Regions from separate parts of the Homo sapiens genome. Here regions 2, 3 and 4 are each linked to region 1. Evidence: promoter capture Hi-C in 16 types of primary human blood cells and fetal thymus (Javierre and others, 2016). All regions are on one chromosome and are shown on one strand. Each heading gives the region's core, a stretch centred on a gene start or on the middle of the fragment in contact. The rest is flanking DNA. Distances are from core to core; before and after follow the strand shown.

Evidence for each region. The method cuts DNA at HindIII sites, captures the fragments that hold promoters and counts their contacts. A CHiCAGO score of 5 or more calls a contact.
Region 2: a fragment that was not itself captured here is called in contact with the fragment with the promoter of HMX3 in region 1 in 4 of 17 cell types (M0 macrophages, M2 macrophages, naive CD4 T cells and 1 more); the score reaches 7.5 in M0 macrophages.
Region 3: a fragment that was not itself captured here is called in contact with the fragment with the promoter of HMX3 in region 1 in 2 of 17 cell types (M2 macrophages and naive CD4 T cells); the score reaches 5.2 in M2 macrophages.
Region 4: a fragment that was not itself captured here is called in contact with the fragment with the promoter of HMX3 in region 1 in 1 of 17 cell types (naive CD4 T cells); the score reaches 5.8 in naive CD4 T cells.

What each region holds. Positions count from the first base shown.
Region 1 is chr10:123,132,384-123,138,355 of GRCh38, forward strand. It overlaps HMX3 (H6 family homeobox 3), which reads left to right and starts at 3,587. Exons shown (of 2, transcript NM_001105574.2): 1 at 3,587-4,067; 2 at 4,675-5,972. The coding sequence starts at 3,668. The coding sequence ends at 5,348. RefSeq lists enhancers at 454-563, 630-924, 2,802-3,752, 4,935-5,899 and silencers at 2,756-2,875, 2,906-3,035, 3,416-3,495, 3,546-3,955, 3,966-4,015 and 1 more. The HindIII fragment of the contact is 8,924 bases long and covers 1-5,972 here.
Region 2 is chr10:123,356,578-123,362,549 of GRCh38, forward strand. LINC02641 (long intergenic non-protein coding RNA 2641) reads left to right here. Exons shown (of 12, transcript XR_007062326.1): 3 at 1-2,031; 4 at 3,707-3,925; 5 at 4,331-4,442; 6 at 4,742-5,570. Among named protein-coding and RNA genes, the nearest start is that of LINC02641, 12 kb to the left of the region's middle. The HindIII fragment of the contact is 3,142 bases long and covers 1,083-4,224 here.
Region 3 is chr10:123,304,573-123,310,544 of GRCh38, forward strand. No RefSeq gene overlaps it. Among named protein-coding and RNA genes, the nearest start is that of LINC02641, 40 kb to the right of the region's middle. The HindIII fragment of the contact is 1,235 bases long and covers 2,632-3,866 here.
Region 4 is chr10:123,276,081-123,282,052 of GRCh38, forward strand. No RefSeq gene overlaps it. Among named protein-coding and RNA genes, the nearest start is that of LINC02641, 69 kb to the right of the region's middle. The HindIII fragment of the contact is 3,397 bases long and covers 1,352-4,748 here.

The DNA of each region.
Region 1 (5,972 bases), core at 2,337-4,836:
ACTGGCATTCTCCAGTCCCCTTCTGCCCTCTTGGCTCCTTGTCCCAAGGGTGGGTGGTGTAGAGACCCGCTCTCACAGCCCATCTGCCTGAGATTAGCCTGGGAAAGGTCCCCCAAAGGTCCTATTCCTTGGGCTCCTTTAGGTTTTGTAAAATGCAGCATCAAAAGATCTCAGATTTCATTAAACTCTTTAAAAACAGCTTTTGGGTATGATCAGGCTATCTGAAGGTCCCTAATCAAGTGGGCCAATTCTCTGTAAGGGAACTGTGAATCCATTCATTCATTCATCCATTCATTCATTCGTCTCACTCAGGCATTCAGGCATTAATACAAGCGTTTCCTGAGCACAAGCATTTCCTGAGCACAAGCGTTTCGTCCGCTGATCGGCCGGCGGCGCTGAGTCCTGGGAAGACGAATGAGGCAGGCCCGTTCCCTCCTTCCCTCCCCGAGTCCTTCCTGGAGAACACCTAGCCTGAGGTTAGGACCGGCACCTAAAGGATAGAACGAGACGGGGACCACAGAATGGGCCCTAAAACAGGCAGGAAAAGCGGGAAGGAGGATGACAGGCAGGCGAGACCACTTCCTGTCGTGGCCAGGTAGAGATCAGCAGAGATCTGAAGGCGATTTCACCCACTTCTTCTCCCGGGATCCAGAGAAAAAATGCTTTTGTTTTCTAACTGCGGCGGCGAAGGGCGAGACCTCAATGGCTTTTAAACGTCCTGCGCCGGGACAGCGGTTTCTCCAGCGGAACCTGCAGGCTTGGTTCAGAGGCTGTCCCATAGAGGGCGCTGTCTGCCTGACTTTGAATGGAGTCGTGAGCGCAAGAACGCTGGCAACACCTCTCGCCAGACGGCGAGTAAAGGGCTGAGTCCGCGCCCAGACCCGACTCCCACCAGCTTTCTCGAAGGGGAAGGGAAAGATCTACTCAATACATCCCGCTTTTCAAGCCCAGCAATCCCTAAAACTGAGAGGATGGGCTGAGAGTGCTGACACTGGAGAAGCTCCTCTCCCGGGCCAAACACAAGCACATAACAGCGCCCCTGCGCGCCCCTGGGAGGGGAGTCAACCGGAGAACTTGGGGCGACAACCGGAAAGCCGGGATCCGGTAGCCGCACAGCAGGGATGCGGGCGGCTGTCCCGGACTCTTCTCCCGCCACACTGGGCCTGTCCCCTCCCCATCTGAGTCTAGCGCTGGAGTTGTGATCAGCCACGAGTCCCCCTCCCCAGACTGAACCCTCAGCATTCCCAGTTTAAAGTCGACTTTCGTGCGTCAGAACTCTAGCCAAGTTTGCATGCGTCTGCGCTGAATGGCGAAGCTCCCAAAACACACAGGCATACACGCCGGGGTCTCTCCACGCATACTCGGCCGCGTGGCAGGCTGTGTGCAGGCGGTGCCCACCCAACCCTCATAGACCTACGTGCATCGAGCTATTTCTGCGGTTGGGGGAAAATGACCTCTGGGTATCCAGCAGCGATTGGGCGACCTAGGCCCAGTTTCCTCCTCTCTGGGCGCGGGTTTCCACTTACAAAATCCAAGTATGAGACCCACCCTGCTGGGGTCTCAGGGCAGTGATCCGTTCCAACCCAGATTTTGGATGGCGTAGCGTTTTGCATTCCAGTAAAGCCCTGTGTAAACTCAAGGGAGTAATAACAGTAATTGTTTATGGAAGCGCCATTTACGTTTCCAGATTTCCAAAGCAAAAATGGGGTTCGCTGCTGTAGATGAATGCAGAAAGAAACATTACATATGCCCGTCGAGATTTGGTGGGGGAGGGTCTGACGCCCCAGGACCGAAAAACAAAATCTACCTCTCAAGTGGGGACCCCACACGATCACGTCTGCCAATGCAGGGCGGCCTTGAATTAGGCGAGGCTCAATCTAACGAAAAAGAAAGCGGTGGGGAGGTGAAGGGATCCCAAAAAGCCCTCGTGTGCGGGAGCTTCACCAGGGTGGAAGAGGGTGAGGCCAGTTTGTCACCTTTCTCTGATAAGAAAGCTGTCTCTCGGGAGGGGACCTCACAAACAATTCTGATTTACTTGATGCTTAAATCATGAGTCTTAAATGTCTGCCTCATGGGCTTCTCGTGCGAACCGGGGAGCTGTTTTTAAAGCCAGTGGAGTGGAATGTCCTTTCACTAAGCCGTTCTGCAAAGGTCCAGTGTGGTTCTCTAAGGACTTCGCTGCCGTCGAGACGCGCAGCGGATGCCGCTGCTTGCCGCGGCGGAGGAAGCTACGCCGCTGCGCCTTCGGTTCACCTTGCCCCCATTAAAGCGTTAGTTAGACAGCTCCAAACGCCAGCTGGCCGGAGAGACTTCCTGGGAGAAAGTGCTGTCGTCGGGGTCACAGACTCGGAGTTGATCCGCGAGCCTTGGGCACCGGCGGCCAGAGCAGAGGGGTGCCCTTCCGAGAGCAGCCGTCGGTGCCGAGAAGCTGTTGCCCCAGCAGCCCCACCGAGTGACGCGCGGGTTTTGGCCGGGTCAGCGCGCATACGCACACAGGCACACCCACTCCTGGTCCCGGGGGAAGGCTCACTCTTCGGTTTTCCAGGGCTAAAGGCCAAGGCCACGCGGATTTCTGAGTCCGAAGACGCAGTGCGAGGACTTACACCTGGATTCCCTTACTATCGGCTGGATGGTGGGTGGGGAACCCAAATCCCTCTCTTCTTGGCCTCGCCCTTCCTAGCAGGCTTTAGGAAAAATACCGAGGTCGCCGGACCCCAAAGGGTAGGAAAATGATGAGTTCTCCGAGGGCCGAGGTCACGTCCTGCCTCTTGGGCCGGCGCTGCGTGGCTCTCCAGCTGCGTGGGGGCGGCGGGCCCCTGTCCAGCCCCAGGGGGCGGGGGAGCGGCAGCTGCGAGCGCAGATAACCCCGAGGTGACCCGGGAGGGCCTGGTCCGCCCCTCCCCCCTCCCGCAGGCCTGGCGGCGGGAAGCGGGTCCCTGCGCCGCAGGGGGGAGAGGCAGGCGCGGTCTCCGGGCTCGCGGCCGTTAGTGCGCTTCGGCCAAGGGCGCCGCCTGCTCCGCGTCCCTCGCTCGCCTCCTGCGCTCGCAGGAGCGCTCCGAGTGCCTCTTTAGCGGGAGCCAATATCCTTTTGTGCTAATAGGCTTGTCCTCATTTGCTGCCTAATTGGACTATATAAAGCCAATAACGGGCGGGCTCTTATAGCCCGAAGCCAAAGCGCCAAAATCCGAGGGAAGGCGAGGAGGGGGCGGTGGCGGAGGCGGCTGCGGGGCCGGGGCTCGGCTGAGCCTTCGCCTGCCTAATCCCATTTGCCATTGTACGCGCCCAATCGCCGTATACTCCCCGCATTTAACTTGGATGACATTTTGATTTCATCATTAGCATCCGGCGCCGGATTGACGCAGCCTCGAGCCGGGGACTGCTCTTGCTGCCTCCTCCGCGGGAGCCGCAGCCGCAGCCGAGCCGCCTCGATCCCTCGGTGCCGCGGCAGGGCCGCTCCCCGCCCCTCCGCACCCCTCCCTCATGCGAGCCCGCCCGTCTGGGTCCTCACTCCGCCCTCCCGCCGTTGGATTTGCGCCCGGGGCGGCCCCCGACTTTGCGCCCCGTAGTTGAGTTCCGTTTATGGTCTGATTTCCGGCCTCTCGCCTGCTCGCCCCGCCGCCCGCCTGTCCCGCTCCCTCCCTCCCGGGGACCCGGAGGAGAGGGGACCATGCCGGAACCCGGGCCGGACGCTGCCGGCACCGCCAGCGCACAGCCCCAACCGCCGCCGCCCCCCCCACCCGCTCCCAAGGAGTCCCCGTTCTCCATCAAGAACCTGCTCAACGGAGACCACCACCGGCCGCCCCCTAAGCCTCAGCCGCCCCCACGGACGCTCTTCGCGCCAGCCTCGGCTGCCGCCGCCGCCGCCGCTGCCGCTGCCGCGGCGGCCAAGGGGGCCCTGGAGGGCGCCGCGGGCTTCGCGCTCTCGCAGGTGGGCGACCTGGCTTTCCCTCGCTTTGAGATCCCGGCGCAGAGGTTTGCCCTGCCCGCGCACTACCTGGAGCGCTCCCCAGCCTGGTGGTACCCCTACACCCTGACCCCCGCCGGCGGCCACCTCCCGCGACCTGAAGGTACCGACCTCTCTTTGAACTTTCGTTGTCCCCCTGCGCGCCCGCCCCGTCCCCGCCCCGCGCTGCTTCCCTCCGCAGTTCTGGGACCCCAGCACCCGCAAACCCTCTGCTCGGTCAGTTTTTTTCGGCCCCTAGCCTGCCCTCGCGCTGGGTTGCGCTGCCCGTTAATCCAATCCCACTTGGTGAGAAAAGAAGTGGAATTGGAGCCCCGGGCACGGTGCTTCCCGGGAAAAGTGGCCTCGGGCGTGAATAGGGAGGCTTCGGACGGCCGGGGCTTGGGACACGGCCTGGAAGGAGGGGGTGATTCCAATGCGCCTAAGCCGAAAGGGAACCGTTCTGCCGGCCCCTGGCGAGGAAGCTGAGGGAATGGAAGGAGGTGGCCGCGCTACCACCATCTGCTTGCCTGTCCTCGGGAGGAGGGGGATCCCAGGACTCGGCGTCCCTTCTCTGGCCCAGCCGAGAAGGAGGCAGCCCGCGGGAATGGTGAGGCCTCATGGCCTGGGACCTGGAGGCCGGCGCGGGTTGAGCCTGCCGTCCCCAGGCGCCGGGCCTCGCTCAAGGCTGTGTCGGTGTGCATGTGTGTGCGTCCGTCTGTCTGTCTCCCCAGCCTCGGAGAAGGCCTTGCTGAGAGACTCCTCCCCCGCCTCCGGCACAGACCGCGACTCTCCGGAGCCACTGCTCAAGGCCGACCCCGATCACAAGGAGCTGGACTCCAAGAGCCCGGACGAGATCATTCTGGAGGAGAGCGACTCCGAGGAAAGCAAAAAGGAAGGCGAAGCGGCGCCAGGCGCGGCCGGGGCGAGCGTAGGGGCGGCGGCGGCCACTCCGGGCGCAGAAGACTGGAAGAAGGGCGCTGAAAGTCCAGAGAAGAAGCCGGCGTGCCGCAAGAAGAAGACGCGCACAGTCTTCTCGCGCAGCCAGGTCTTCCAGCTCGAGTCCACCTTCGACATGAAGCGCTATCTGAGCAGCTCGGAGCGAGCCGGCCTGGCCGCGTCCCTGCACCTCACCGAGACGCAGGTCAAGATCTGGTTCCAGAACCGCCGCAACAAGTGGAAGCGGCAGCTGGCGGCGGAGCTGGAGGCGGCCAACCTGAGCCATGCCGCGGCGCAGCGCATCGTGCGGGTGCCCATCCTCTACCACGAGAACTCGGCGGCCGAGGGCGCGGCGGCTGCAGCCGCGGGGGCCCCGGTGCCAGTCAGCCAGCCGCTGCTCACCTTCCCGCACCCCGTCTACTACTCGCACCCGGTGGTCTCTTCCGTGCCGCTGCTACGGCCGGTCTGAGGCCCCAGAGGGGTGGGGGAGGGAGCGCCCGGCCTCCTTGTCCGGACCCCGGAGGAGACTGGGCCGGGCCGAGGGCGCCGAGAAGTCCAGCGGCCTTCAGGAACTGGGGCTTGGGCGCGCAGCCTCTGCTTCCCCTCCCCCAGTCGGTAGCATTTTGTAAGTATTTGCAATGCATTTTCGTGCAATTCATCCCTAATGGATTGGAGGCGCTTCCCCTCTTACTTTTGGTTTTTGGCTTATATTAAGAGAAAGCAGGAACAAGACAAAATTTTCGGGTCAGAGATTTCGGCCGATAGTTTTTGTAAAATGTGCAGCCCTCCCTTCCAAATTTCCATTGCGCGGTGGCTTTTTGGTTTTATTTTTATAGAAGGAAAATAAGCGCAAAACCTAAATCCCTCTAGTTTATTCTTTTCTGCTTTTTTTTTTTTTTCCGAGACGGAATCTTGCTCTATCTATTGCCCAGGCTGGAGTGCAGTGGCGCGATCTCGGCTCACTTCGACCTCCGCCTCCCGGGTTCAAGTGATTCTCCTGTCTCAGCCTCCCGAGTAGCTGGGATTGCAGGTGTGTGCCACCACGTCCGGCTAATTTTTGTATTTTTAGTAGAGACGCGGTTTCACCATGTTG
Region 2 (5,972 bases), core at 1,404-3,903, 220 kb after region 1:
ATCCCCAAAAGCAGAGAACTGAAGTCTCTTTCCCCACCGAGTACCGGTGACAGAGAGGGAGGATGGCCACTCTTTCACAGTATCTCTTTGGGAAAGAGCTGGCGTCCTCTTGGGCAACAAAAAAAACCCTCCCTCCCACTTGCTTTGTCTTCATTTCATCTTTCAGGACCCACATCCGTAGGACAAGCCATTTTTTGAGAACCCCACAGAACCAACGACCTTCTTTTTACAGATAAAGATGAAAGCCAGATTTTTTAATTGGTTTTTAAAAAATTGCATGTACTTTTGACAGAGACGAAAGACCCTTTTCCTGGATGTTAGCTCTGACATCTTCCTTGTTAGGATGGGAGAGGAAAAAAAAAAAATGGACCCTAGGCATGGAGCTTGCAGGGACCCTGGAAAAGGGGACACCATCATGCCACCATCGAGTTCTGTCAACTGTCAAGTTAATTAGAACGAAATTAAAAACACATTTGCCAAGATGTTCCGCAGCCAAACCAGTTAAATAGAGATTTTAACAAAATTGAAAGCATATTATACTGAGATTTGTGGATTCTGGCCCGGTGAGTGAGTGCTGAAAGTGTGATAAAATAGCAAAATTGCTGCCTAATAATCTATAGAATAATATTGTCAACTAATGGATTATAATAAAATAAAAGCTGTTATTAGGGTAAAACATTATAAAAAAAATCCAACTTTTCTTTGCAGCCCCTCCCCCTTAATGGTTTTGAGCATTTTGAAAGGTAATTTAAACAAGTACATTGTGTCCTTATTGAAGCGGCTTCATCTTGCTAGCTGCTGAAAATGGCTTTAACCATCCCTCTGAACAAAAGCACCCCTAATAAGACAACAAAAAGCCCAAAGCAATGGCCCAGCGGCATCGCGCTCTGGCGCAGAGCGAGCCTGCTAAGGCGGCAGCTTTCTCCTTGCATGTAATTAGATGAATTAAAAGGACAAAGTGGTTAATGTAACTGTTGTCCGGGGGGCCCCCAGCCCTTTTCATCCCATCCATTTCAGACAAGAGCCTGTGGCTTTTGCTTCAGCAATGCGGAGAAGAATGTTGGCGGGGAGGGAAATTAACAAGCTTAATCTATGAGGAATCTGCTCCGTGTCATGGATGAAATGTATCTCGAGCAACGAAAGGCTAGTCATTCCTGCTTCCCTTTTATATGCCTAATAAAACTTACAATAAATTAACTGCATTTTAGTTTGCAGCTAGGCTCTGTTAATCAGGGATGAGGCTTCGGGTAGTCAAGTTACAAGAAGGCTTCAGCGGGTGCATGTCAGCTATGCGGTTGGGCGGGTTGGCCCCACTCTAATTAGCCTGGCTTCCCACGTTGACATTTCAGGTACGGGTTCACTGTTGGGTTTCGCGTCTTCTGTAACGGGGAGTGAGAAGGAAGGTGTATGTTATCCATCCAATTCACCTGACTGAGGGGTACTGGGACCCTTGGAGTGAAATCTCTCCAAGATAAATAGATTCCTTATAGCTCTTCATCTAATTGATATCAGGGTGTTTCCTTGATAACTCTGTGCATTGTTTATTTTCTGTGAGTGCCTCCTACTCTTCATACTGTCCTATTAGGAATGCTGCCACCATGGCAACATCAATTTTTCATGCGGGCCCTTAGTATCATTCTCCGTAGAACTTTGGGATAATGCTTCCATGGGGTTCCTTAACCGAGAAACTCCAGAAAAGGCGGTGACATCAGCAAAAGGGAGCCAACTCCTTCCCCGTCTGCCGTTTTGTACTCTTGGCCTAACGTTGACTCAAAACAGCAACTTGGAGCCTTCCCTGACCTGTTGGTAAAATATGACTTTGTTTTATTATTAAAAAAATAGAAAGTAGAAAATTAAATTCATTAGCTCCAATTACTAAATGATTCATCTGGCTGGCTAATGAAGCTGAGCATTATGCTAACAAGATAAAGGCAAGAATAACATGTGGGGGTGTGCGGCTGCAGGCACGCTGGGCCTGTTCTACTGGAAACGCAAGGCTGAGGAGCTCTGTGCCTTGAGATGGATGGCAAGGTATGGGAGTTGGGGTTGAGAAACAGGAGGCTGTGGGGCTCGGTTTGCTTCCCTGGGGGGCTTGAGGAGGCTGAGTCAGGGACTGGCAACACTTTTGGGTGTTGGGTGAGCCCTGGGCCTTTCTTTTTCTTTCTGTGTATGGGGACCGCTAGTGGAGACTTCAGTGGGAGGCCCGCATCCATGAGCAGAAACGACAGCAGCAGAAACAATCCCCCGGGCCATCCAGGAAGAAGGTTGGGCTTGTGGCTCAAGGCCCCTTTAGCCTCTGGGGTTTCAAGGAACCTTTGGGCTGGAGATATGGAATCAACGGAAGTGGAGGCTGTGGACAGGGTCCCTGTTCCCTATGGTCTCAGCTACTTGCTAAGTCATTGTTAGATCCAGGCTATGGTGGTACCAAGAGCTGGCTTCCTGTGGGAAGAATGGGTCCCTGGAGTCACACTTTTGAGCGCAGGCAGGCCCTGCTGAATACTGCTCACGTGAAAGCATTTCCAGACTCTCCTACTCACTTCTGCTGACCTTGGGTCATTGCTGAAGCTGCCAGCTACTGTCAATCTGATCGCTTACCGTGCTTCATACTGTCTCTAGCCCGCTTCTTTCAATTCTGGCTCCTGCTCTCTGATTCTCCTGGGCACTCATCACCAACTGGCTGCCAGAGCACATGGGCCTCCAGCTGCTGTCTGAATGGCCACAGGATGACTCCATTATTATTCCCACCACCTGGACTGAGTTAGTCTGATCCTCATTCTGTTAAAAACACCCATCAAATAGCAAGAAAAAACCCAGTTTGAAAAGCCCCCTAGGCCAGGTGCGGTGGCTCAAGCCTGTAATCCCAGCACTTTGAGAGGCTGAGGCAGGTGGATCACTTGAGGTCAGGAGTTCAAGTCCCACCTGGGCAACATGGTGAAACCCCGTCTCTACCAAAAATACAAAAATTAGCCAGGTGTGGTGGCATGCTCCTGTAGTCCCAGCTATTCCGGAAGCTGAGGCAGGAGAATAGCTTGAAATCTCCCAGAGGGCAGAGGTTGCAGTGAGCTGAGATCGTGCCTGGGCAGCAGAGTGAGACTCTGTCTCAAAAAAAAAACAAAAACAAAAACAAAAAAGCACCCTATTTGTATGCTGCACAGTGAAAGGAATGTAGGACCTTGAGTTTGAACCCCAGCCTCCTACTACTTCTGGCAAGTAACTTCCCCTTTTCTGGGTTGGTGATAACATAGCTTGCTGATATTGGGTGGTTGTGACTGAGGCTCACAGGAAATGGTATCTGCTCCCAGTGTTAGGTTATGCATCCTTGCTTGCATGGGGGTTCTCTTTCCCATTCTCTAGAACTGTAGAAAAATTGAGCATCTCTTATATCTATCGAGTCTGATCTTCCTAGGAGTTGAGCCCAAGAACTGGGTCAGTGGGTTGTCCCTGCAGAATGTTCCTTAGTGGCTTCCTACACAGTGGACCCAGCACCCGGTGCAGCCAGCCTGTCACCGAGACAGACGGGCAATGCCAAGTGACCCTCACCTAGACTCACAGAGATAAGTCACTACCTCCTCGCCTCTCTGAGGATTCGTGCCTGTTTTACTACTGTTACCATCAGAGTTGTTCTACTCTTAGTCATAATTGTCTCAGCACAATTGGTTGAGCACTTACTATATGCCATGACTTTCCACCTGGCATCCGCCTTTAGGCATTCCTTTATCATCCAACTCCTGCTTCGGGAAAATTTGTTTCTGTCTGTCTCCAAGATACAAAATCAAAAAGGTGTTTTAATCCTGAGGAAGAGTGTGAGTCTGGGAAAATTTTGGATCACCGAGGTGCAGCCATACCTTCCACAGCCATCACTGTTGCTTACAACTCACATGCCAAGAATTGCAAGATGAAGATGGTGATCAGGAGGCATGACTTGGTAATACTGCTGAGGCTGGGAGTCTCTGGGAAATTCTGAGTGTGGGCAATGATTGTGGCAATCTGGTTCCCACAGGCATTAATGATTTTTTCTTTTAACTAAAAGATTAGAATTTGCAAAATTATGTTAAACCAATTAACAAGGGGAATGGATTTAGGACCACATGTAAAATGATACTTTCCCCAATATAGCTTAATAGAAACATGTCATTTGTAGGTGGAAAAAACCTTCATATTCATATCCCCAGGAAGTCAATGGAAAATGAAGGTCGATGGAAAATGAAGTTAATATCTATGTAAAGCTTAAAATTAAAAAGTGAATATTAAAAAGAAACATGAATAATATGCTTCTTTGGAGTTTGGGGTTTTGCTATGGTTGTTGTTGTTGCTGTTGTTTTTCTTTTAGTAACTACTTGGTTAGTGTAAAGCAGAGAGGAGAATTAGGAGAGGCAGATGGCAGAGAGGTCTGCCATGGAAGATTCATGGATGACAGGAGAGGCTGTGTTCCAGAAGGCAAGGTGAACAGGCTTTACACACACAGTTTGGGATGCCTCTGGGTACCACTTGGCAGGGCTGTTAGGAGGGCTGGTCCCAGGCTCCAAGTTCTAAGCAAAGCTTGAGCATTCAGGCCAGGTCTGCAGCCCAGGAAGTTTACACACAAACATATGAGTCAAGAAGAGCTTCAAGGACAGGGTGAGCAGTGGGTCAGGGGGCAGGTAGCCAGGCAAGGGCAAGGCTGACTGGCAGGCGAGCACCAGAAAGGGAGGCATCCAGACTCCTTGACCTTCTTGACGTATGTCTGTGACCCTCGTTCCAGGAAGAAGAGCCCAAGGACCGTAGCAAGGCCCTGATTCTGGGAGACGAGAGAACACGCTGACTTAGAATGCTTGTCTCTGCATCCTGGTCAGAAAGTAGATGGACGACACTTTCATCTCCGACTGGATTTTGGTGAGAGATGGGCAAACCCCGGGCTCTAGGCTGGAGCAGCAGCTCTTGTATCCACACAAAATCAGGACTGGTGGAGGGAGCCATCTTCAAACATAAATTTGGTGAGTTTAACAATCAGAGATTTGAAAAACACAGAAATGAACATTTCTGATCAATGACACTGCTGATCTGATGCATCATAACAGAAACCAGTCATCAAGGTACAACAAACTGTTCCAAACCACTGAGAAATGGCTTGTCTGTGGGCTCCCAGTTCAAATGCTCACAAACCTGGGAGGCTGGTTGATCAGGGTTGGGAGGGAGGGTCTAGCCATAGCTCAGCAGCTTCCCTAAGGTTGTTGTGCATGTCCCTAGCTGGCTTAGTTTGGGCTGATGTCTTTTACGTGTAGTTCTAGATGGTTTGAACATATTGGCTGTTTCTCGTTTTCTTCTGTTTAAGCGTCTTTTGGCAATGCACTCCTTGGGTTTGGAAGCTTCCCTCCAAGATGCTGAGCCCAATGTTTGGGGAAAGCCAGGGAAACAGATGCTGGGTCAGTGCTGCTCCCACCTCCTCTGCTCCCCTCCTGAGGGCTCCACTGAGTCACCAGCCAGCAAACAGCCCATGCGCCCTGGAGCAGATGGACTGTGGGTACACGAGCCTCTGAACTCTTGGGCAGCATGGGCACAACATCCTTTTGGCCTCACCCAATGACCTGGCTGTAAGTATATCACTTGTGTCCCAGAGGGAGCTTGGGTACCAGGTGGTCATGACTCTGTTCTTTCATTGTCCCTGGGTGAATAGGGTGAGGAAATGGCCCTTGCTGTCCCCAGTGCCTGCAGTGCTTGGTCCCTTACTCTTCTCCAGTCTTTGCTCAGTTGTCAGCTCAATAGCAACCCTCCCTGCCACCCATGTCTTCTTTTTCTCTGTGAAGTTATCACCAACTGGTGCACTGTATGTTCTACCTTCTGTCTCTTCTCTCTAGAATGCAGTCTCCATGAGGGCAGGGCTTTTGGTCTGGCTCATTCATGGCTGTTTTCCTAACACCTAGAGCAGTCTGGCACACAGCACATCAGTAATGAAGATCCAGGCAATGAACTCATAAATGGCCTTGAGGAGAATT
Region 3 (5,972 bases), core at 1,999-4,498, 170 kb after region 1:
TTTTCCCATCCTCTTCCATATTCAAGATTGGTTAAAAAATCTCTGCCCAAAATTGATCTGAGCAGGGCTCAAGAAATGAAGACGATCTCTGGCTAATAGCAGGTGCATTTTAATCACAAGGCCTATTTGATCATGTATGGCTTCCCTGTGCCTTACAAAGACAGAGTTTTAAAAGTGTGTAACATTAGAATATGCAAAGCCTCGGCCATTCCACCCTGCCCCATGAAGACTTACACGATCCCAATGCTTAAAATATGGAGAGAGGAACAATTAACATTATGTTTCCAGTGCGTATGGTGGCCCTAAGTAGCTTATGGGCTCTGTGTCCACCTAGAAGCAATAAAGTCATGTTATTATGCATTAAATAAAAGAAACATCTTAATCATTATATATGAAGATCTCTTTTCCAGTGGTCGGCAGAACGAGGGGTAAAACCGGCTTTTCTTTCCCTTCACAGCTCACTTGAGACCGGGAGAACAGGCAGAGAAGCCTGGAAATCCGGATGGCTTCTAATTGTCTCTTTACAGCCAACTAGGCTACCAAAATGATTGTCTTTTTCTCTCCAAGCCTTACTGACCTGTGGCTAATGAGATTTGTGCTTCGATTAGTTGTAGAACATAAATTAGCTAATCAATGGCAATGGATTCACATTATTTCTCATACATGAGTTCCGCTGCAGTGATCTGTATTTAATATTCAAATCAATTTCGAATGCTCAGGATGATTCCGTTAACGTGGCATGCTGGAAGCTGGCAGCATCTGTAGCCTCCTGGCCGATGAGGACTAGGCCAAGCCTGGATGATACACCTGCCTCTCATCGGCTTCCAGAGCTTTGCAGATTGCCTTGCCTTCCATTACACAGGGTGAGGGGCAAATGGGGTTCAGCAGAAAGCTTGTGGAAAAAGCAAAAGAAAATCCAGGAGCACGTACAGCAGAGGTGGCCTCTTTCCTGAACAGGAAATCAAAAAGCAGGCGAGCTAATTTCAGGTTTCTGATGTGCAAACTTTGCAAAGAGCGAGGTTGTCGGTCAGCGTCTTCACTTTTCAGCACCGAGAAGCATATTTTTGCTCTTTGCTGTAATTGTCTCATCTGTACAATTAACTGGCATCTTGGCATAAAATGTGGAGATTTGTACAGTCTTCTAGGCATCTGTGGGCTTTATGGTACAAGTTCTGTTAGTACTGAAGCCACAGAAAATTAAATGTTCCCCAAAGAACTTCCAGATGTGCTTTATTCTAATAGGGTCATTATACAGTAAATTAAAAAGCAGGGTAAATGGAACTGTAAAATTTAAATTACTCTAAAACCACATCTCTTTGCTTTGAGCATTCATTTGTGGGGTTGCATTTGCAATAAATGTGAATTAGGCAGCTGCAATAACTGTTAATCATATATTTATAAAATAGTAATGAGGAAATGAATAGCAGAGTAAGACAGCTGCACATTTCTCTAATAGTGTGTCAACTGTGAGCATAATAAGATGTGGAACACTGTTTGGTGCTGGGCTGATAATACAGCTGAATGTAAGAGATCGCTTCAGCCTCTTAACTTTACATGAAATTTCACATAAAATCCATAAAAGCTCATAATAATGCATTATGCCTCTGAATTGTATTCAATATTTTTCTTTGCTTTGATTTTCTGAAATGAGCTCTACTTTCACCAAAGTCATCTTCCGGAGATCGGTGAGCCTTTTGTTTCAGGCAATCTCGGGCTTCTAAGATTGCAACTGGATTTAAAGAAACCAGCGCCAATGCAGGCAAGGAGTGGATGGTGGTGCTTTGTTTTGTTTTCTCTGGGTTGCTGTACATGGCCAGAGGGATGCTTTGTCTTGGGCAGAGGACACGGTCTATACAGGCCATCTCAGCTGCCTCCCGATGTCAGGATTCTGGAGAGAGTCCACTCACTGTCGACCAGAGTCCCTAGACTGCCAGTTTGGCCTGATGGGAGCAGGCACATCACCTTCAGCCACTTCCAAACATCTAGGTGGGCCGAGGCTGGGTGCTCAGGGAGGACCTAGGAAAGGTGGTGTGAATCTCAAGGACAAGTGTCTGGGAAGGACGGTTTTCCTTCCTGCATGCATGCCGAGATGACTCCAGGCTTTCTTAGGACTGGTGATGGTGCCTGCTGGTTTGGTGATGATTATGTCTGAGTTCGAGAGGAGGATGACAACTGATTCAGTCTTAGCAAGGCGAGGAATGGGGACAGCTCTTCTGTGGAGCTCTGGAAGCTTGGAAGCCTCCTGGCCTCATCTAGCCTGGTTTTCGGATAAACCCCTCTGTAGTGCCTATTGAAACTGAGGCTTTGGGATACATTTCCTTCTGTGCGTCATGGGAATAGGGGAGGGGACACTGAGGTGGAGTGTTCATGTGGAGGGCTGGTCCTGGGACAATCTCATCATGTCCCTCCACTGCATAGCATTGCTGGGAGCAAGCAGATGTTCTTTACAGTGTCATTCAGAGCTCTGCAGGAGCTGGCCCAATCACCTCTCCTTCCACAACTCACATTAAACATAGGGTCCTAGATAAGCCATGGTCTTGAATTTGGTAGCTTTGAGTCTTCTGTTTTCTTGGTCTGGAATATTCCTCCCTGCTTGCAAACTGCAGTCGTTCTTGGGCTTCCCCTATGTGAAGCTTTCCCAGACTCTTGGGCACCTTTTCTTACTCCCTATGTGCTATGTGTGCATCCCCATTACAACAGTCTTATTGCATCTTGGGGGTTCTAGAATCTAGCGCCAGCTACTCCTCAGGCTGAGGGCTCCGTAAGCGCGTCTGAATTTTGGTGCTTGATACATCTTGTTTTGCAGAATGAGTGCATGATTGCAGTCACCAGATGTTGGTATAAGTTCAGAGAAAATGACCTGGAAGAGTTCGACTTAAACTTTGTTGCTATTTCTAAGACTAGGATAGGTCCACCTTTCCTAAGGGCAGCCTCCTGCTCTTGGGATGGAAGGAAGTTGTCTGCTAGGGACTGGAGAAGGAGCAATTCTAATGGAAAGTTGCCCCGAGATGCTTAATGTGGGATGTCTCAAAATAGAGAGTTTGTAGCTGCACTGCCCTTCACACAAGACTCTGGGAGGACCCTCAGTGAAGGCAGTGTGCTAGGGGGAAGCTGGAGCTCATTACTGTAGTTTTCCTGAGAAGAAGGGAGAGAGGGAGGAAGAGGGGGGAGAAGGGGAGGCCAGAAGAGGGAGCGAGAAAGGGAGAGAAGAGAAATAAGAGGAAGAAGAGGAAGAAAAAGGAGGAGGAGGAGGAGGGGGAGACTGTTGTATACACATACACTGAACACTCTGTGATCTCCTAAAACTAAGTTCACTTCCCAATAGTTCAGTATTGAATTTTTTTTTAGTATTGAATTTTTTAACCAACTTTTTTTAAAATTACAAAAGTACTATATGGTCATTATAGAAAATGTGGAAAGTAGAGAAGTACAAAGAAGAAAATAAATGTTCCCCATAACCATCCATACCCAGATATAACTCCCGTTAATATTTATGTGCTTTCATTGTCTTTGTTTTATTTGTATCCATATCCATGAATCCAAATATAATAATACTGTACATCATATTCTGAAATTTTTCATTCACTATATTAAGAACATATTTCATATCATCAAATGTTCTTTTTCATCATAACACATCACTTAATGTGACTCCCTAGAATGTCCAACATAAAGAATTCCATAATTCACTCATTCTCTGATTTTAAAAAATTCCGTAGTTTATCTAACCATTCTTTATATGTTTAATCATTCATTTATTGTCTATTTAACTGTTCTCTATTTATCTAATATTTATGAACATTTTTGATCTTTTAAATAATGTCGTTATTAAAGTTATTAACAACCTTTGCCAATTTCATAAGTAAAGCTTAATTTCAATTTATTTTATTTCTAATAAAGTAGAAATTTTTCCCTGTTTTTTGCTTACTTTTATATAAGTCATATATAAAAATTATCTTATAAGTATATATATTATCTTATATATGTCATATATAAGTATTATATAAGTATTATCTTATATGTGTCATATATAAATATTATCTTATATATGTCATATATAAGTATTATATATAATCATCTCAAAGGAAATATATATTATTTATATATTATATATTATATATGAGAAATATAACATTAAATACGTATGTATATATGTGTATCTGTACACACATAATATATATTATTTATATATAATATATAAGAAAAACATATTTAATATATATACACACATATGTGTTTTCTTTGAGATGTGTGTATATATATATATTTTTTTGACTTAAGTACAGCCATCATTAACTGAGGGAACAGTGCCAGCACTGAGTGTTTTATGGGATGCGTTATTTCATTTAGACCTCACATTCACCCCATGAGTAGCCACTATGCTCCACATTTAGTGGGGGCTTCTGAGGCTTGGCGAGGTTGAGGACACTACCATGAGGTGCTCTGGTGAAGCATGTTGTACTGGAATGCCTGTTTCATCATTTTTCTACTTAGGTGCTGGCAGCTTTCTTTTTATTTTATTGGAGTTGTTTAATTTATTGGAATTGTCTGCATATTAAGTATTTAATTCATTGTCTTTGTACATATACCATAGAGTTTTAAGTGGAAGCTGTAGTGTCCCAGTGTTTCCCACAAAGAAGGAGAAAAGGCAAGCAACTCATTGCTTTCTCCATTTTGAGTTTGTTGGGTGGCTTACCTGCTTGTAGCCCTACTTCCCAGATTCTTTCCCTTCATCATCTCATGGTGTCTTCGCCATGTGCAAGGTGGGTGGAGTGACATTTACTCATTCGTTTGAGGAGACTGAAGCCTGCCCAGTGTCAGAGAGTTGGCGGGCAAGCCAATTAAAACACAACAACAACAAACAAAACCTTGGTTGAGGGTTTTGTTTTTTGGTTGTTGTTTTTTAAATCGGCTTGCCTGCCATGAGCAACAAGAACCAACCGAATCAAACCAAACTGGACAAAAACATCTCCAATGGTGAGTCAGTTGGTTTGAATTGGGGATAGGGCTGCCAGATAAAATACAGAATGCCCATTTAGAGTTAATTTCAGATAAACAACCAATACTAAAATGACTAAAAACAGCAAAAAATACTTTTGAACAGTCCCAGGCAATATTTGGGACATACTTACACTTAAAATTTTTTTGTCATTGCTTATCTGGGACCCTTGTATTTTTATGTGCTTGAGCTTACAGCCCTAAGTGGGGAAAGCCTGCTATGACTGAGAACGGAGTCAGAGGGACCGAAAGAGGAAAGACGAGCTGACTGGCCGAGTTCACTTTGTTTTTAAACTTTGCTCTCATTCTTTTTCATCCGGTTTGGGTACACTGAGTAATGCGAGGCTGAAGGCCTGGAACCTGACTGCCTCTGTTTGGATGCATGAGTGTGGGGTGTGGGTGGTGGTGGGAGGCCTTGCATTTCTGGAGCTGCCTAATGCTTCCTCATTCTTCTGGGTGTGGGGCCAGCAGTGGGAGGGATTGGTTACAACAGAAGCCAAGATATTATATGGTCTTCCTTTTAAATAACAGAACATACAAAATCCTACTTTCTTTTCTGAATAAAAAAGTAATAATGTGAGTAGGCAGGGAATGTGTCTGGCCAAAATACCAATTTATAATGATCATTGTGGAAAACTTCCGAATAAGAAAGAAGAAAATTCAGTCACTCAGAATCCCATCACCCAGAGAAAAGCACTGTTAGCATGTTAGCATTTCAGCATATTTCCTTCCAGTCTTTTTTCCCATGGTTCTTTTGTTCTTTTAACTGTAAAGTCTGGAATCCCAAGTCAAAGTGGCCCCCTTTTCAGAAGCATAGAGAATGTTGGGGTTCGAGCGGGAGCTCAGTGATATTAAAGTGCTGTCAGCTGGCCCAAGCTCTCCTAGGATATCTGGAAGGGTTCTCACTTTTTGGCCCTCATTGGGGATTGCACCAGGCTCTCTTAATGGCCTATAAACTGTGTTAGGAGTCTTTT
Region 4 (5,972 bases), core at 1,800-4,299, 140 kb after region 1:
TTATTCAAAGGTATCAGTCAGAAAAGGATCCCTTCGATCCATATCCCACATTCATTAGAGTTCAGATCCCAACTCTGGGGCACTCTCACTCTAATTCAGCTTGAGAAGTGGTTTTCTAATCTGTAAAATGCAGGTAAGAATGGCTCTGGCAGGCTGACTGTAACCGCTCTGAATATATCAAGTCCTAAGCCCTAGAACCTGTGAATGTTGTTACCTTTATAAGTAAAAAAGGTCTTCCCAGATGTGATTTAAGTTAAGGATCTTGAGATGGGAAATTATCCAGGTGGGCCTTAAATGCAATCACAAGTGTCCTCATAGGAGAGAAGCAGAGGGAGATGTGACACAGAGAGGGGAAGGTAATGGAAGAGATGGAAACAGAGATTGGGATGATGTGGCCAAAAGCCAAAACATGCTGGCAGCCACCAGAATCTGGAAGAAGCAATAAATGGATTCTCTAAAGCCTTTGGTGGGGCACAGCCCTGTCCACACCTTGATTTTGGCCTTCTGTCCTCTAGTACTCTGAGATGATAAATTTCCCTTGTTTTAAGCCACTCAGTTTGTGGTAATTTATCACAACAGCCACAGGACACCAGCACAGATGCCTCAGGGGAAGGTCCTCTTCCATAAGTGGGGCAAGCAAGCACTTGAGGACAGACAGGAGGTTCTGCAGTTGTGCCTCCTGGCCAGGAGGGCAAGGGGGCCTGGGATCCTGGTGTGCAGCAGGCATCCTGATACACGTGGAATTTTACAGTGGTGTTACTTGGAGCATCGGCTGTGGGGTATGCTGCATTCCAGTCCTTGAGGAAGGGGGTGTCATCCAGGTGTGGGTGCCCAGGGAGGGGAGCACACTCCGGAGCTTGAGTAGGGGTCTAACATGGCTCAGCACAAGGCAGGACTGAAGCTGTGGCTGAGGTTTTACGTCCCCTCAGCTGGAGGAACTGGACAGACGGGTGACTCCCTCTCACCCCACTGGGTGAAAAGAACATATTAAAAAACCACAAAAATATATAACTATCTCTCAGTGAGCAACTTCTTATGCAGAAAGGATTTTCCCCTGTCAAAGAAATTTTCTCAAAGATCTGTTCACTACTATTTTTATAAATCTTATTCTTTTACACAATAGCCTTAATACTTTGGAATAAATTTTTGGGTTAAGAGGTAGGTTGTTTCCATTGTGTTAGTTGTAAGTGCTACTTTTTCATATTTGGATAGTAATTCTAATTCATAGCACAATGGAGTTTAGAGTTCAGAATAGGATGTATTTCTTGATTGATTTTTTGTTAATATCTATTGGGTGCTCGATATGTGTTATGAGGATGAAATGAGAGACTGTGGCCTAAAAGAGACAAAAAGCTTGCCCAAGTCACCTAGCGGTGGTGGCACCAGGCCGTGAGTGCAGCCATCTGACTTCGGAGTTTAGTTCTTCACGCCCACGCTTTTGGAAGCCAAGGATGAGACCTGCATCTGGTTCTGCGGGGTTTTATTGGGAGATCTAGTTGTGCCCGCTGCAGATGGCACTCCCCACCCCCACAGGGCCTCATCCCAGGCCCAACCACATCTTCCTTCTGTACAGCGGGCATGGCACCTGCGCCCTTGGGGAGTGTCCACTGTTTTGTTGAATTGCTACTGGGAGTTGAAGAGGCTTTGGAGCATTCGTGCTAAATGGGATCCCTTTGAAAGGCATCTCTAAGTATAAGCAGAAATCAAGTTTGGCAGAAGTGATTCACAGACATCCCAGGCACAAAGCACATTCTCCTATAAGGAGAATGTTAATTTGTTCTAGAAGCACAGCAATTAAAGGGCAATGTCCATCAAGTGGTCATATTGGTTTGTAGCAGTTATGTCAAAATCCATAGCAAACCCCAATCTGCATTTTCAGAGTAGAGAGATGTGTCCTGTTGTTTGGAGGAAGCCTGCTACAGCTGGGCCTTAAGGCCTGTATTAGTCCATTCTCATGCTGCTGATAAAGGCATGCCCAAGACTGGGTAATTTATAAAGAAAAAGAGGTTTAATGGACTCACAGTTCCACATGGCTGGGGAGACCTCACAATCATGGTGGAAGGTGAAAGGCACTTCTTACCTGGAGGCAGACAAGAGAGAATGAGAGAGCCAAGAGAAAAGGGAAACCCGTTATAAAACCATCAGCTCTTGTGAGACTTATTCGCTACCAGGAGAAGAGCTTGGGGGAAACCACCCCTGTGATTCAATTATCTCCCAGTGGGTCCCTCCCACAATACATGGGAATTATGGGAGCTACAATTCAAGATTTGGGTGGGAATACAGCCAAACCATATCACAGCCATAACACACCATGCCCCAGCCTCTGCCCCAGTGCCTTTGCTCCACAGCCAGCTCCTGATCAGGGAGAGTTACTGTTGTCTTGCAAGTGTATGTCACAGCAGCAGGTTGGGCCTGTAGGCCAAAGCAGCTCCCAACAGAGCATACTGGGTTTTGCATTCTTCTTAGAGCACTAGATGGAGTATGGCTGTGTTTATATGAACTGCGAATCCTGACCAGGTCTTGGTGTGATGAGGTATGATGGAGGCCATAGGGCCCTGTGGTGGAGGGCTGTGTAGCAGGGAGGGCATGAGTCAGACAGCTGGGTAGGTCCTGGCTGTGTGAGCCAGGGTGGGTGTCTTCACTGCTCTGTGCTGCAGCTTCTACATTAGAAAATGAGGAAAATCGCCTATCTATTTCACAGGGTTGTTGAGGAGGTTAAGGATGAAACATGCAGTGTCTGGAGTGGAGTCTGGCCTTGGGGGTGCTATTCCAGAGGCATGGCTGCTCACCCCCCTTTTTTTTTGTGAGACAGAGTCTTGCTCTGTCAGCCAGACTGGAGTGCAGTGTCATGATCTCGGCTCACTGCAACCTCTGCCTCCCAGGCTCAAGCAATTCTCCTGCCTCAGCCTCCTGAGTAGCTGGGATTACAGGCGTGTGCCACCATGCCCAGCTAATTTTTGTATTTTCAGTAGAGATTGGGGTGGGGGGAGGTCTCACCATGTTGGCCAGGCTGGTCTTGAACTCCTGACCTCAGATAATCTGCCCGCCTTGGCCTCCCAAAGTGCTGGGATTACAGGCGTGAGCCACTGCGCCTGGCCTGCTCCTCTTAACGTTGTGGAAAAAGTGGTGCTCGAGGAGTCCAGGCACCTGGGAAACAATGTTCTTGCCACTCACCGAGGCCTTCTCTGAGCCTTGGTCTCCTCATCTGTGAACTGTGGAAGGTAATGAGGCCTAGCCTGAGGGGTGATTAGGAAGATTAAATGGGACACTTTGTGGGAAAGCACCAGGCTCCTATAACTCCTAGATCTTTAGGTGCCACTGAAGCCCATTGGTGTCATCTACCTGGTTAGTCGCAGACTCCGGACTGCTCTGCGTGTCATGTGGTTCTGGCTGCTGTAGGGCAGGGAAGAGAGATGTGTCAGACTTTGTTCCTGTCCCCAAGAAATGTCCCCACATAGTGTTGACAGACTTAACTGCATGCCTGATTAAATTTGAGTTTCAGATACTCGATGAATAATTTTCAGTAATTAGTATCCAAATACTGTATGGGACATACTTAAACTAAAAATTATTTACTGTGTATCTGGATTAAAATTTGACTCACTGTCCTGAATTTTTATTTGCGAAATCTGGCATCCCAATGGCCCCTCATCCTATGTAAAAATGCCCAACTTGAGGTCTCTGTCCATTGGTTTGGGGAGTCCCTCTGAGATTGCTGTTACCCAGATTCTGACTTTGCTCCATCTTTTCTTTGGTCACGGGACCCTGGGAGAGTTCTCCCTTCCTTCTGTCCTGTGCCTCAGTTTCTTCCTCTGTACTGGCTTATTGCTCAAAGGTCCTTTCTGTTTCCCTTTCTCTCACTTCAGAGTTGGTGGAACACATCTGGCCAATCTGGCATTTTGGTATTGTGTAGACAAAATGACCCACTGGCTTGATTGCATCTTTAACTTTTCAAATGCTTGTTTTGGCTTCATGTAGACACAATCCAAATGCCTCTGACCTGCCCTTTCAGTCCCAATTCTCAGCACTTGTAAGGAAAAGTCTCTTTGTAACTCTGCCCAATTCCCCCAGCTGTGTCTCTAAAGGGCATTTTGAAGCCCTTTTAATTTCCAATCCATTATAAAAATAAATCTTTGGAGGGTTTGCTTCCTACATAGCAGCATGCTTTTTGGCTTGACAGCTGTCAAACTGAGAAACATTCCATGAATTCTCCACGTAATTTAAAAGTTGCTCGGACTGAAATACGGGGTGATGTCTGCTCAGCTGAAAGGGTGCCATTTGTACGTGGGTAATTCAATTCACTTGATTTTTTTTTTTTCAGGGAATTACTTTCATAAGGAAAAGAAGAAGGAGTACATTTTACTCAATTATGAAATTGGTGTTCTGATCCAACTTGTGACTCTATTTCTAATCGGTTCTACCTTTCACTGCGCCTCTGGGAGGGGCAGTCTCTTCAACCATCACTTGTTCTTTGGCAATAATTACTTTTGGATGAGAACAGCAAGTCCATTTTGGGGGTTGTGTTCTGTGACATATATGTCTCTATATAAAATCCTTTTAGAATCTAAGCCTCTCACTCACATATGAGTTTCTTTCTCTTCAGAGATTAAAATACTGCAGCCACCATTTGTTTTGAGCAAACACAGTACTGTGAAGTCCTGTAATAGCTCGTTGGGGATTCTAAGCCACAGATTTTCTTATTAATCTTGCTAACACCTAAGAAGGTATGGGCGCCTCCCAAATGCATAAGCTTTATGCTCATTTGCTTTAATCCCTCAACATTTACCCTGCTGCTCCAGTCACGGCTCTGCCAGCTTCATTTGGCTCCTTCCTTCCCTCCCTTTCTTATCTGTCTCTTTTCCCTTCTTTCTTTTTTTCCTCCATGGATTTGCACTTTTTAGTCTCAATAAAAGGACTCGATGTCTGCCATTGGAAAACCTTACTTTCATTTCTTCCCCCAGAAAAATGAAACAGGTTTCTTTTAACTAGTGGAAGGCTCTCCTCTCTAAAAGGTTTTTATTATTGAGTGCCCGGGGTCCTTAGTTTCTGACATTTATCTTCCAGCTAAGCAGGAACAAAAGAGGGAGGCAGCCTTCTGCACCCCGAGTTTCTGAGTAATCACCCAGCGGTTAAATTGAAGCAGCCGCAACATCTTCTTCATTGTGTCACTTTGGGCTTCCTTGTTAATTTATGAGCCTCAACTGTCAAAATAGTTTGTGCAACGGATCCTAAAAACGGTGATGGGTCGTGTCAATCAATCGGGTTTTATAGCCCCGGTTTCCCTCGCGGCAGGCCTGCCTTCTGTATACAGCATGTTAAAAAGAAAACCACTATACCATAGACGTGCTCAAAATGAGTACATCACGCCCAACAATGCATCCCTTCATGTATGGCTCCAGGATGCTTAATGCGCCATCAGTGCTCCACCTCTGAGGCCCTTGTGATGACAGCTGGAAGCTGTTGAGCCTGTTGTGGGGGTGTCCCCCTGCCAGGGCATCCCACTATTTCAAGTGTCCCATCTCCATGATTGGAACTCAATGGTCTCAAGATGGCACCATCAGAGGCCTTCGGACAAGCATGCGGTGATGAGCAATGGTTGGGGCAAAATACCCCTCCAATGAGACAAAAATTTTCCTTAATCTTTGTGATTATAGAATCTAAATAGAGGCTGGGCATGGTGGCTCACGCCTGTAATCCCAGCACTTTGGGAGGCTGAGGCGGGTGGATCACTTGAGGTCAGGCATTCGAGACCAGCCTGGCTAACATGGTGAAACCCCATCTCTACTAAAAATAGAAAAATTAGCCCGGCGTGGTGGCACACGCACCTGCAATCCCAGCTACTCGGGAGGCTGAGGTAGGAGAATTGCTTGAGCCCGGGAGGCAGAGGTTTAAGTGAGCCAAGATCATGCCACTGCACTCCAGCCTGGGCCACTTCATTTCTAATAATAATAAACATTTCTAATAATCATCAT